Regions from separate parts of the Homo sapiens genome. Here region 2 is linked to region 1. Evidence: promoter capture Hi-C in 16 types of primary human blood cells and fetal thymus (Javierre and others, 2016). All regions are on one chromosome and are shown on one strand. Each heading gives the region's core, a stretch centred on a gene start or on the middle of the fragment in contact. The rest is flanking DNA. Distances are from core to core; before and after follow the strand shown.

Region 1 (6,727 bases), core at 1,576-4,075:
GATTCTTCCATGAAAGGCAAAAGTAAGGTTATGATGGCTCAAGAGTTACCCGCAGGACTACTACCCCAGGGACATTGCACAAGCAACCCCAGTCTAGAATCCCTTCACTTTGTGTGTCACCATAACTGCAGGTGAGGACATTAACCTGTGTGGCCTCAATCTGGGGTATGACTCGACTGTCAGTCACCTTGCCTGTCCCACAGATAGCTTCCAGATTTTATTTACCAGGTCATTCTCCAAGAATCAGCACACCAAAGTGCTGGTTTGGTGTAGGCTTTCCTGAACTGCTCAGGAACTCCCCAGCGGACTGTGACAGGGATGGCTGCCGCCATGCAGAAGTACTCCTAGCAACTGAGATGTGCAAGGTAATATTAAGTTCCTGAAAAGAAGGCACCTGGACAGGTGCTTCTTTTACAAATGACATGAAAATGATCGGTTCCAACACAGGAAGCACCAGGCTGCAGCCCAGCCTCCTCTCCTGACAGACTCTCTGGCTGCTCCAGCTCTGTCCTTTTCCCAGGCCAGGGAATATGAGTCACCAAAGTTGGCCAAGGGGGAAAAAAAAAGAACCAGAAGTTATGGACATACATTTGAACCATGAGAGCAGGACTCAGGATCTGATACCAGTTGCAGGATAGGAATGAGTGTATGAGTGCTGCTCCCAGGTAGGTATGAATTCTCAAACACTTGCTTCCATAGAGATGCCTCAGAGCTCAGGGATCAGTTTCTCTGGTGAGAGACTGGGCCATGCTTGAGGGTAGATTACAGTGTTCATGGCTAAGACAGGGCAAACCCTAACAGATCATGGAGATAGTTTTGCATAAATGCTTTATCTGTTCCACTCATAACACACCTTCTCAAGACAGCTGGCCAAGGTTAGACGGCCATGGTGATAACTATAGACCTGCACAGAAAATAACCCTATGACCTTCACGGTTTCAGGCAGCTGAACTACTGACTTTCTGGCTGTACCTTTCATAGGGAGGAAATCTTTTTTGTATCAGGGCCACGACATTATCCCCTCCATTCTCTTATTCTCTCTCTCTCTTTCTTCTGGTAAGAAAAGACAAAAAGGCCGGGCGTGGTGGCTCACGCCTGTAATCCCAGCACTTTGGGAGGCCGAGGCGGGCGGATCACGAGATCAGGAGATCGAGACCATCCTGGCGAACACGGTGAAACCCCGTCTCTACTAAAAATACAAAAAAAAAAAATTAGCCGGGCGTGGCGGCGGGCGCCTGTAGTCCCAGCTACTCAGGAGGCCGAGGCAGGAGAATGGCGCGAACCCGGGAGGCGGAGCTTGCAGTGAGCCGAGATGGCGCCACTGCAGTCCAGCCTGGGCGACAGAGCGAAACTACGTCTCAAAAAAAAAAAAAAAAGGCAAAAAAAGGCCGGGCGTGGTGGCTCACGCCTGTAATCCCAGCACTTTGGGAGGCCGAGGCGGGCAGATCACGAGGTCAGGAGATCGACACCATCCTGGCTAACACGGTGAAACCCCGTCTCTACTAAAAATACAAATAAAAATTAGCTGGGCGTGGTGGCGGGCGCCTGTAGTCCCAGCTACTCAGGAGGCCGAGGCAGGAGAATGGCGTGAACCCGGGAGGCGGAGCTTACAATGAGCCAGAGATGGCGCCACTGCACTCCAGCCTGGGCGACAGAGCGACACTCCGTCTCAAAACAAACAAACAAAACCAAACAAACAAAAAAATCAGATGCACAAGCAACCCACCAGGAACACTGAAAGCTGCCGAACTGCATTCAGTAAACATTCACAACCAGGTTATAATTTTCATTTTTAAAGACATGGCCATCTACCTCCCTCCAACAATTCTGTGTTCCCTTCCAAAAGGTTTCACTGATCCAGCATGAAGAGAGTGCATGTCTTTCCCCTTTGTACTCAGACCATGGGGGCCTATTCACAGCCTTAAAGGCTCCTTGTACCCCTTGATCCTGTCCCCATCATCCAAAGCATCTTGGAGACTGACATTTGTGAATACAGTTGCATATTCTAGGAAAGAGGCAAGTTCAAATGACACAGCCCCTGCCGTCTAAAAACGTACGAGGGAAAACAGAGTACTAGGCTAAGAATGCCCGCACCTTGCTTTGCTACTTGAGCGAGTCACTCAGCTGCTCTGGGCTTGAGGTCCCCTCCAAGGTCCCTGCTGGCCCTGACATTGTATGTTGCGACCCACCCCTGGTGCCGCTTCTCTTCCCACTAACTTTTTTTCCTAAATACCTCAACTGTACTTTTGTGTAAGTCCTCCAGCTGTCTTCACTTTAGTTTTGGCTCCTGGACAACTCTGCCCAAGGAAACATTTCCTCCTCTCCTCCTCTTCCTCCCAGACCAAAGCTCTAATTGTCTCTTCTGCTGCACCCTGGGTCTCCCAGGCAGGCCCCCGCCACTCAGACCACAGGTTCCAACACCTTCCAAGTCTCCAAGTTCCCAAGTCCAGTCTTTCCTCTGTTTTCTCCTCTTTTTCAGAAAACAGTGCTCTGACAGGCCCCAAATCTTCCAGTAAGTCATTACCGGCCCCCACTCCCTCTTTTGCAGCTACTGTGCCTTCCACACCCCTTTTTCTGGATTCCAAAGAGACGCAGGAGCAGGCCAGTGCTCTCCAGGCTGGAGGATCCCACAAGTTACTCTCCGACTCTGTCCCCTCCGTCCAGTTTGACCAGGGCTGCACTCCGCCCCCAACCTCCCTACAAGCCTCCTTGGCCTCGCGCCGCACCCACCTTTTGGGCCGCGGAGAAGCCCCCTCCCCAGCTCGCTCGCCGCATCGGAGAGCCCGCAGGGTTGTGGCAAGCGCGACTACGTGAGCGTCGGTGTGTCCGGGAGGCAGGGCCTGGGCTGGGTTCCCGGAGATGTCGGCGGTGGGAGGAAGACGACGAGGAGGAGGAGCCCGTTATCGCACCCGGGCGGGGCCGGCAAAGGGGCAACCCCGGCCGGAGCAAGCAGCGCGACACCAGCACCCCCGCGCGGCCGCCTGGCCTCCGCCAGCCCGGGACGGGGATCGTGCTAGGTCCCGTCGCCCTCGGTGGCCTGAGAGCCTACCAAGTGTATTTCCTCGCGTTTTATAGGGAAAATAAGGCCCGGAGAGAGACGAAGCGGCTTGTCCTTAAGCTCCAAACCCCACTACCCAACTTTGGAGAAGTCTCCAGACCTCTCGGGACCCGGGGCTGGGAACTTGTGCTAGTTTCGAAGCCAGAACAACAGGTGGTAAAGGGATCAGCCGCCGCAGCCGCAGCTCCCGGGTCACGGTCGCAGCCGGGCCCAGCAGCGCGGTGGAGCACGTGGGCCCGGGAGGCGCTTCCCAGCTGCGGTCCCTGGATCGCCCTCTCCACGCTGAAGCAACAGCTCCCTGGGGCCAGCTACCTAGAGTGTTCCAGCCCCGGTGTGCCAGTGCAAGTCGCACGGTGAAAATGTAGGTGACAGGAACCCAAAGAGGTCCCCGCTGCACGCCCTCGCCTTGTTGTCCCCAGCCCTTCCCTCGGACTCGAGACTTGGGGAGCTACGTACCGGGTTCAGCTCATAAGTCCCGAGGGCAGACGCGCCAGCCCGCGGCAGCATACGCCCTGGGGGAACAGGGACAGCTGCCGTGACGGCAGGAGCTGGGCCCGGGCTCGGGTTCGCGCCCCCCGCGGGCGGCGAAGTCCGTCCGTGCACGAGAGCTGCGCGGTCACCTCCTCCCTCCAGCAGTCACCCGGGACTCGAGCTCCCCGCGGCCGCGCTGCCCCCTTTAACTTTCCTGCCAGCTCTCGGGACCCCGGGGTCCATCCCAGGCCCCCTGCCACGTGAACGCCCCCCGCAGCCAATGGGCGCGCCCGGGACTCCAGCCGCCGACCAATGGGCGCGCAGCCACGGCGCTGGGGAGCACCGCTTCGCCACGTGATCGGCAGCGCGCCCGGAGTGATCCGGCTGCGGGCCAGGGTCTGGGAAGGGGGTGGTGGGTCGCCGTTTCATCAGAAGCCGGAGGACGGGCGCCAGGGGGCAACTTCCTACAGGAGGGCGTCCCGTTAGAATGACAGGGCTTTTGCAAAAGTCTGACACCCGTGGCACAGAGCGCCCCAGATATGGAGGGTTTCACAGGTAGGTATACTTCAGAAGAAATTTCCTGACTTGAATCGGTTATAATCGCTATCTAAATCTACAGGGCCTCCGCGATGCATATTATGCACCTTGAGATCTATAGAAAATGGTCTTAGAAAAAGAAAAAAATGATGACCTTAAAGAGTTTGAATCAGAGGCTCTTCCTTTCTTCAGTTTACATGTAACTTGATCTGAACTAGCCACTTTAGGCATGAGGCTACCAGTTTTCTAATTTTAATGACCAGTAGAGTTTTAGAAAAAAATTAGAAATTGATATAGGATTGCCAACTTTTTAAACTGCCAAGAAAGACATGAAAATAAACCCTGCTGTCTTCTATTACTATCCTTTTATTTTTATTTTTTAAAGTACACTTTAATAGCAATAACAACGAAATGCAGGAAGGATGTAATGGCCAGTCTTTCCCATTGGATATATTTAGCTTTCTGAAAACTCATTATGTTGAATATGGCATTTGGGAGTTTCTACTGTAAGGGATACAGGCTCAGCTTCAATTTTACTAGGAATGCAAGCCTAAAACAGTGATCGGTGACAATAATCCAATACAAGCCTTTAGCTCTATAGAGAGCTTCCCCGGAGGGAGTCCTGGTGTCTGAAGAATGATCATTAATCTTCTTCCTTCTTTTCTGATGGGCAGATCTGATAAGGGACCACTTGTGAAGTCAGCTATTGGTAGGTGGTTGGCAAATAGCGTTTCTGTGCAATATTCCCTCTGCCAACTTTAAACCCTCTCTTGTTAGGTGATGAGTAGGTTGAAGATTTTTAAGCCAAGTACTGGCTAAGTTTCTCAGGTGTAGTGAGCATGCTGGAGGAGTGGGCAAAGATGAAGAGCCAAGAGGTATTGCAAAACATATGCAGGCAAAGGGTAATCCGAACCACACCGGGAAAGAGTTGGGACAAGTAAATACAGCTTTGTAGCATTAGGGTTTGGGAGCATTTTTCTTGCATAGATCTAGGAAACCATGGTCAATAATTTCCCCTGTGGTTTAGATGACTTTTTCAGACCAGGAGAGAGGGGTTAAACTTAGTTGTGGTACACCACAGCCTTAGTAGGTAGGAGGGTGTCATCTATGAGTTTGAAAAGAGCACAGTCTTTGCCATCAGGATAGAGCTGAGATGCAAGCTCAGAGGAGGGCTTTACCAGGAGACCCAGCAGTGCAGAGCTCCAGAGCCTGAGAGCTGGACCCACCCTCAGACACGATCTTGCCTCACCCTCTCATTTTATGGCAACAAAGAGAGAAAGTGAAAATGGAAAATTTCAATGCTTACTGCATCAGTCAATGCACACCAAGTTCTTTCTATTATATCTGGCATTGGGTTACAGCTTTAATTTTATTTAACAACCCTCCTCCCCCAACCAAAAAAAAAAAAAAAAATGAAACCAGAAAACAGCAGTGGCTAAGCATAGTAAATTATTATTCTTCCATAAACTGTTCTTTTTCTTTTTTTTTAATTTATTTATTTATTTTTTTAATTTATTTATTTTTTATTGATAATTCTTGGGTGTTTCTCACAGAGGGGGATTTGGCAGGGTCATAGGACAATAGTGGAGGGAAGGTCAGCAGATAAACAAGTGAACAAAGGTCTCTGGTTTTCCTAGGCAGAGGACCCTGCGGCCTTCCGCAGTGTTTGTGTCCCTGGGTACTTGAGATTAGGGAGTGGCGATGACTCTTAACGAGCATGCTGCCTTCAAGCATCTGTTTAACAAAGCACATCTTGCACCGCCCTTAATCCATTTAACCCTGAGTGGACACAGCACATGTTTCAGAGAGCACAGGGTTGGGGGTAAGGTCACAGATCAACAGGATCCCACGGCAGAAGAAGTTTTCTTAGTACAGAACAAAATGAGAAGTCTCCCATGTCTACTTCTTTCCACACAGACACGGCAGCCATCCGATTTCTCAATCTTTTCCCCACCTTTCCCGCCTTTCTATTCCACAAAGCCGCCATTGTCATCCTGGCCCGTTCTCAATGAGCTGTTGGGCACACCTCCCAGACGGGGTGGTGGCCGGGCAGAGGGGCTCCTCACTTCCCAGTAGGGGCGGCCGGGCAGAGGTGCCCCTCACCTCCCGGACGGGGCGGCTGCCGGGAGGAGACGCTCCTCACTTCCCAGACTGGGTGGCTGTCGGGCGGAGAGGCTCCTCACTTCTCAGACGGGGCGGCTGCCGGGCGGAGGGGCTCCTCACTTCTCAGACGGGGCGGTTGCCAGGCAGAGGGGCTCCTCACTTCTCAGACGGGGCAGCCGGGCAGAGATGCTCCTCACCTCCCAGACAGGGTCGCAGCCGGGCAGAGGTGCTCCTCACATCCCAGACGGGGCGGCGGGGCAGAGGCGCTCCCCACATCTCAGACGATGGGCGGCAGGGCAGAGACTCTCCTCACTTCCTAGATGTGATGGCGGCCGGGAAGAGGTGCTCCTCACTTCCTAGGTGGGATGGCGGCCGGGCGGAGACGCTCCTCACTTTCCAGACTGGGCAGCCAGGCAGAGGGGCTCCTCACATCCCAGACGATGGGCGGCCAGGCAGAGACGCTCCTCACTTCCCAGACGGGGTGGCGGCCGGGCAGAGGCTGCAATCTCGGCACTTTGGGAGGCCAAGGCAGGCGGCTGGGAGGTGGAGGTTGTAGCG
Region 2 (6,727 bases), core at 3,092-5,591, 400 kb before region 1:
ATTGAACCATGAGCAGTGGCATCATTTCAAACTTTACTTTCAGCAACTAGAAGATGCCAGACTACTTTTATTTGCTGTGCTTGACAACTTGTCACCAAAAAAAGATTTCTAAACAGATTTATCTTTCTCATGACATGAGACTTTTAATATCATCTGTTATAAACAATTGCTGTTGACAGCTTATACTGACAGGTGTTTGAGCAGTTGTCAATAATATGCTCATTTTATTGATTCTTTTCTTCCTTATATATCATGACTGAAATTTAAGTAGCTCAGAGTATATATTAATTGAGCCATCACTCTTATCTCCCTGATACATGATCACAGAACCAACAACTGTGCCTCTAATGTCCACATGGACTAAAAGTCACAAGATTGTGAGAGAAAAAAAAGGGCAACAATGCAGACAGGCTAAATTAGTATTAGGTTAGTGCAAAAGTAATTGCGGCCGGGCGTGGTGGGTCACACCTGCAATCCCAGCACTTCGGGAGGCTGAAGCAGGTGGATCACTTAAGGATCAGGAATTCAAAACCAGCCTGGCCAACATGGTGAAACCCATCTCTACTAAAAATACAAAAATTAGCCACTCGTGGTGGTGAGCACCTGTAATTCCAGCTACTCAGAAAGCTGAGGCACAAGAATTGCTTGAACCCAGGGGGTGGAGGTTGCAGTGAGCTGAGATGGCACCACTGCACTCCAGCCTGGATAACAGAGCGAAACTCCATCTCCAAAAAAAAAGTAATTGCGGTTTTTGTCATTAAAATTGTGAAAACTGCAATTACTATTGCACCAACCTAATAACTCAATGTCATCAAGAAACCCACAAGAACAGCCACAAGTTTCTTTAGAGATGATTCTCAAGATTTCTCCAAGAGTAGAGTGAGATGCCAGATCCAAAAATACAAGGAGTACGTGAGAGTCTACCTACCTTTCTCCACCCAGCCTCTTCCTCCGCCCGGGTCCGTCACACCTGCACCCAAGCTTACACTCTCCCAACAGGAAACGGGGGCATGCATCCTTCTCTGGGGATATTAACACTTAGAGGTTGCCCAATAAAGCAGCGCAGTCGCTTCCCAACCCTGTTATAGTAAAGACCACTAGACACAAGCCTCATGAGATACACAACCTACAATCAGCTCAAAAATATGCCTCGCTCATAAATGGCTGGGCCAAACTTGCCAGGCATTTGGGGAAAACAAGATCTAAAATAAAAGTAAAGTGAAAGAGGCTGGGCACGGTGCCTCACACCTGTAATCCCAACACTTTAAGAGGCTGTGGGTGGATCATTTGAGATCAGGAGTTCGAGACCAGCCTAGACAACATGGGGAAACCCCGTCTCTACTAAAAATAGAAAAATTAGCTGGACGTGGTAGTGCTACACCTGTAGTCCCAGCTACCAGGGAGGCTGAGGCAGGAGAATCACTTGAACCTGGGAAGCAGAGGTTGCAGTGAGCTGAGATTATGCCACTACACTCCAGCCTAGGCAACAGATCAAGACTTCATCTCAAAAAAAAAAAAAAAAGTAAAGAGAAAAAGACCAAAACAGACTAATGGAAACCAGAAATTCAGAGAAACAGAGACAACACAGGGAGCATAAGAGAGTTCCATAGAAACTATGACTGTTTGAGAAATAAGCAAACACAAGACATCTATAAAACAAGAACAGTATCACCTTAAAATAAAAATCAAAGAACAAGAAAAGCTTTGACAATTAAAAGTCTGACACAACTTTTCTTAAAAAATCAATAAAAGTATTCAAAAATAGAGTTTTAAAAATCTTTTCAGATAGGTTTTTTTCAACGTTTGTTTTAGACTCAGGGAGTTCAAGTGCAGATTTGTTACTTGGATGTATTGTGTGATGCTGAGGTTTGAGGTATGAATGATCCCATCACCCAGGTAGTGGACGTAGTATCCAATAGGTCATTTCTCAGGCCTTGCCCCACTCCCTTCTTCCTCTCCTCTAGTAGTCCCCACTGTCTGTTGTTCCCATATTTATGTTCACGAGTACTCAATGTTTAGCTTCCACTTATAAGTGAAAACACGTGGTAATTGGTTTTCTGTTCTTGCATTAATTCGCTTAGGATAATGGCCTCCAGCTGCATCCATATTTCTAAAAAGGACATGATTTTTTCTTCTTTATGGGCTGTGTAGTATTCCATGGTGTACATGTACCATATTTTCTTTATCCGATCTACTGTTGTTGGGCACCTCTGTTGATTCTATGTCTTTGCTATTATGAATAGCACTGTGATGAACGTGCACCTGCATGTGTCTCTTTGGTAGAATCATTTGTTTTCTTTTGAATATTTACCCAGTAATGGGATTGCTGGGTCAAATGGTCCGGATAGTTTTTGAAAAGGACAATAGGAGGGGCCGGGTGCGGTGGCTCACACCTGTAATCCCAGCACTTTGGGAGGCCAAGGCAGGTGGATCACCTGAGGTCAGGAGCTCAAGACCAGCCTAGCCAACATGGGGAAACCCCGTCTCTACTAAAATACAAAAATTAGCCGGGCATGGTGGTGCACACCTGTAATCCCAGCTACCTGGGAGGCTGAGGCAGGAGAATTGTTTGAACCTGGGAGGTGGAGGTTGCAGTGAGCCAAGATCATGCTATTGCACTCCAGCCTGTGCGACAGAGCGAGACTCTGTCTCAAGAAAAAAAAAAAAAAAAAGACAACAGGAGGGCGAAGGTAGGTAAATTAGAAGATCATTTGCAGGTGTGTGAAAGTTGTCAGAATCAAAATTCAGTCACATGTTTAAAATTCTAACAAATAGAGCCAGGGAAGGTCATAAAAGGAGAATCCTCATTAAAAACATATCGCATTTTTTGGTAAACTTTATATGCAGAATTATATATATTAGTTAGAATTTTTAACTCTTAATAACTTTAATTTCTACTGAAAACCTAGGAAATAAGATGTTTTTTAGTGTCTGTCACATATCAATATGTTGCAGATGTGAACCATTTTATCATTTCAAAAAGCATTTCCCCAAAACATAATTTTTGTGTGTATTAATAAACCCAAATATATTTAGTCTTTATATAAAATTCAAGAAGCCAAGAACAAACATATATTTATGTTCAGCAATTTATGTTTCAGTATTTTAACTTACTTAGAAATGACTCAGACATTTTGTGAATATCTATTACCTAATTTAACATAACCTGAAAATTTCACAAGTTTATTTATAAATGTTTATCACATTGCATTTTCCTAATGTATTTATTTTTAACAATTTACCTAGATTATCATAGCCAAACTATCAATCAAGTGTGAGGCTAGACTGAAGACCATCTGTGACCTCAGGCAAGGGTCATAACGTGTCTGCACTTCCTGTTCCTCCATACAAAAGCAATGAAGATGGTAGCACCGCCTTGCCCATCTCAGAGGATCCTTATCAAGATGAAATAAAGCATAACTTCCATCCATAGAGTACTAATTCCCTTGTAAGTCATAAGCTCCTCTGGGGCAGTGTCTAATTATGATTTATCTTTGGACTCTCTAAATTACCCAGACCAGTGACTTACACATAGTAAATATCAATAAATACTCTTTGAATGAATACATAAGATTTGTAGAGCAACTTTCTAAAAGTTGAAAGATACAGCACTTTATATATAACCATAAAAATTTAGAAACCTAATATATATATACATATAAATAATACTGCCTTCTAGAAAAATAAAGTATGACATGGCCATGTAGTAAAATCTTGTGTATTCATTAGACTGAGTTGTTGTTGTTGTTGTTTTGACCAGGGAAATTGTTCATGATGTAATGCTGCAGTGTTTAAGGTGGGTTGTAGATCAGTGAGAAGTGACATTCCCCCTCAGAAATACACACATTCCCATACACCTGCTATATTTCCCAATTGAATTCGGCGAAGAGAGAGAAATTAACAGAAACAAGGAGGCTCCCAGAGAGTGGGTGAGAGACCCGGAGAGGTTTGTCCTGGCTCCTGACTTGCCTATAGTACTCAAGGGACTGGTGTCATTCTCTGTCCAGGTAGGTCCTCGTCAATGTTGAGAAAACAGCTAAACCCTTGTAGTGCAACAACCCTTTTAGACTCAGGCAGGCATTGCCAATCTGGAATAATATACGCTGGTAATCCATGTGCTTCCATTTGAGGTAGTATTGGAAAGCATCAGCCTCTCCTTGTTCCTGAACCTGCCTCACAATCTACAAGGCCACCTCCCCTTCCAGGTAGAAAGCAGAGGCTGTGTCTAGATGGCCCTGAATGACAGCTCTGCCTGCTATTCTCCATTGTCCTAGAAAGCCCACGTCCCCACCGTCCACCCCTCTCTGATTTCATCCTCTGTTTCCCAGATGAATCTCAAACTGTGTTAGTTTGAGACCTAATGTTACAAATCCATGTAGTCTATGATCTCAAATATTCAAAAATATGGAAGAATCACTGAGGCAGTAGCATCAACTGAGCCCAGGAGCTTGAGGCTGAGAGTGGGAGGACAAAAGGGCAGGTGGGGAGAGAAGACCCAACCTGGTGGCCCTGCAGCGCCTCTGTGGATGGATTTTACAAAACAGTACAAAGGGAAGCTGAGGGTCAATAAATGAATGCCCTGAAAACCACCTGGCAAGAAACCCTTGTAAAGTTTCTCTGTAACCTCAGGGTGATATAGGCCCCAGTTTAAAATCTATTCATTCAGAACTCCAGGACTGCAGGTTCTTGCTAAGCATCCAGCCTGCTGACAAAAGCACTGTTTAGGCAAGATGCCAGCGGGACTTGGGAGCAACCCACCTCTAAAGGACGATGCTTTTCAAAATGGGTTCCCTAGATCACCTGCATCAAATATTATCTGAGTGTTTATTCAATATGTTTAACATGAAGATTCCTAGGCTCTGTCTCAAACCAGCTGAAAAGGAATCTTTAGGAAGAGGGACATGTGAAACTGTTTGTTGAAGCAACCTACAGCAACGTATGGGCTTTTTGTTGTTGTTGTTGTTGTTTAGACGGGGTCTCACTCTGTTGCCCAGGCTGGAGTGCAGTGGCCCCTCATCATCACACCCACAGCATTCTGCTTTGTCTAAGGCTTCCAAATGTATTCCCTAGTTTCCACCACACCACGGTAGCCCCTCAAGCTCCGGGCTGGATCTATGTCTAATTCATCATTGTGTCCACATCCTAGCCACATGACTAGCACATAGCTGTGCTCAATAGATACTTGTTGTATGAATAAATTCATAGTAAGTAGAAGATACAAAAATGAAGAAGGTGGCTGGGTGCAGTGGCTCATGCCATAATCCTAGCATTTTGGGAGGCTGAGGCGGGAGGATCGCTTGAGTTGAGGAGTTCAAGACCAGCCTGGGCAACATGGCAAAACCCCGTCTCTACAAAAAATAAAATAAAATAAAATAAATGAAGAAGGGAAGAATGTTTGAGGAACTCCCAAATATAGGATTAGTGCTCAGTTACTAATACACTAAGGAGCAGATTATTGGTATGGATCAGCGCAACCAAAAGGTAACCTCCAAATCATTGCTATCTGACTATCATCTATCTATTATCTATATATATATATATGTAATCTATATATGTGTATATATAATCTATATATGTATGTAATTTATATATATCTATATATAATCTTAAAATTATGTAGTGATAGAAAGGGCAGGCTTATGCGATGGCGGATGGGATTATGCCTTCGGCTTTTGGAACTATCGAATATCAATGTGGAAGACTTGAAGACCTGTTTGCTGAAGACCCTCTAAGCCTCTTAGAAAACAGTGACAAGAGCTTTGGGACATTTGCTAGGACACCGGATATTCTGGCATTTATGAACCAAGCCTGGGGATGCTCTCTACTGCTGTGGAGTTGGGGTGGTTTCAGCGGAGGACAACAAGGCTGCTAATTTGTTACTCAACTGCCCTTTGGCCCAACGCCTGGGAATTTATCCTAAAGGCCTCAGTAAAGGAGATTGTCAGTTAAAGAGTCCAATTACCCACGAGAAGCCTTATTAGTAACTGAACTTGCTCCTGGGCAAAGAATGCTGACCATCTCGGGGAGAAGAACCCTAAAGCCTGAATTCAAGACAGCAGCAGGGAATACAGCAACTGTCAGTTACAGCCACCAGGTGGCGCAGCAGAAAGCCAAACTCTCAGGAGCGCAAGGCAAACCCACATCCTGGTTCTTCTCCCCTAAGAAATTTGGTAGCCTCAGAAATTCGTCTGGAGAAGGGCTTAGAGGCAGACACCATTGAAACGGTAACCCAAGACCTTAATTTCACCCTTGCCTCAGTTTTACCCTTAAAATTACACCCAGAAAATGAACTGATAGGACTCGCTCTTGAGAGCCAATTGCTAAATTTTTAGCCCATCTTTTCTCAACCTCATGGTCAGTGACACCAAGTTGGTAACGTGAAATTGGCCAGGAAGGAATATTTACACCATGGAAATTGGCAAATGCTATAAATCAGTTCTTCAGAGGGTTGGTTGTTAAACATTTACCCAACACTCCTGGGTGAGAAGGAGAGACCGCCCATAAATTGTGCTGGGAGGCAAAAGAGGAAAGTTTGGCAATTTGCTTCTGATAATAACTCGGACAAAGTCAAATGTAGCAGCTAAAAACTTGGACTCTGTATTCAGGATTTAGGACTTAAATCTGTTGTTTAAGATTAAGCTCTGCCATTTATTAGCTGTGTAGAGTTGGGCAATCAACTCTTGGTGCCCATCTCTTCATCTGTAAAAAAGATATAATTGTACCTACT

Evidence for each region. The method cuts DNA at HindIII sites, captures the fragments that hold promoters and counts their contacts. A CHiCAGO score of 5 or more calls a contact.
Region 2: a fragment that was not itself captured here is called in contact with the fragment with the promoter of PPP1R3B in region 1 in 1 of 17 cell types (M2 macrophages); the score reaches 5.7 in M2 macrophages.

The regions. Positions count from the first base shown.
Region 1 is chr8:9,147,833-9,154,559 of GRCh38, forward strand. PPP1R3B (protein phosphatase 1 regulatory subunit 3B) reads right to left here and starts at 2,826. Exons shown (of 2, transcript NM_024607.4): 1 at 2,731-2,826. PPP1R3B-DT (PPP1R3B divergent transcript) reads left to right here and starts at 3,893. Exons shown (of 5, transcript NR_183348.1): 1 at 3,893-4,084. RefSeq lists enhancers at 2,226-3,174, 3,221-3,460 and silencers at 2,811-3,080, 3,581-3,830. The HindIII fragment of the contact is 22,346 bases long and covers 1-6,727 here.
Region 2 is chr8:8,744,800-8,751,526 of GRCh38, forward strand. No RefSeq gene overlaps it. Among named protein-coding and RNA genes, the nearest start is that of CLDN23, 46 kb to the left of the region's middle. The HindIII fragment of the contact is 5,283 bases long and covers 1,701-6,727 here.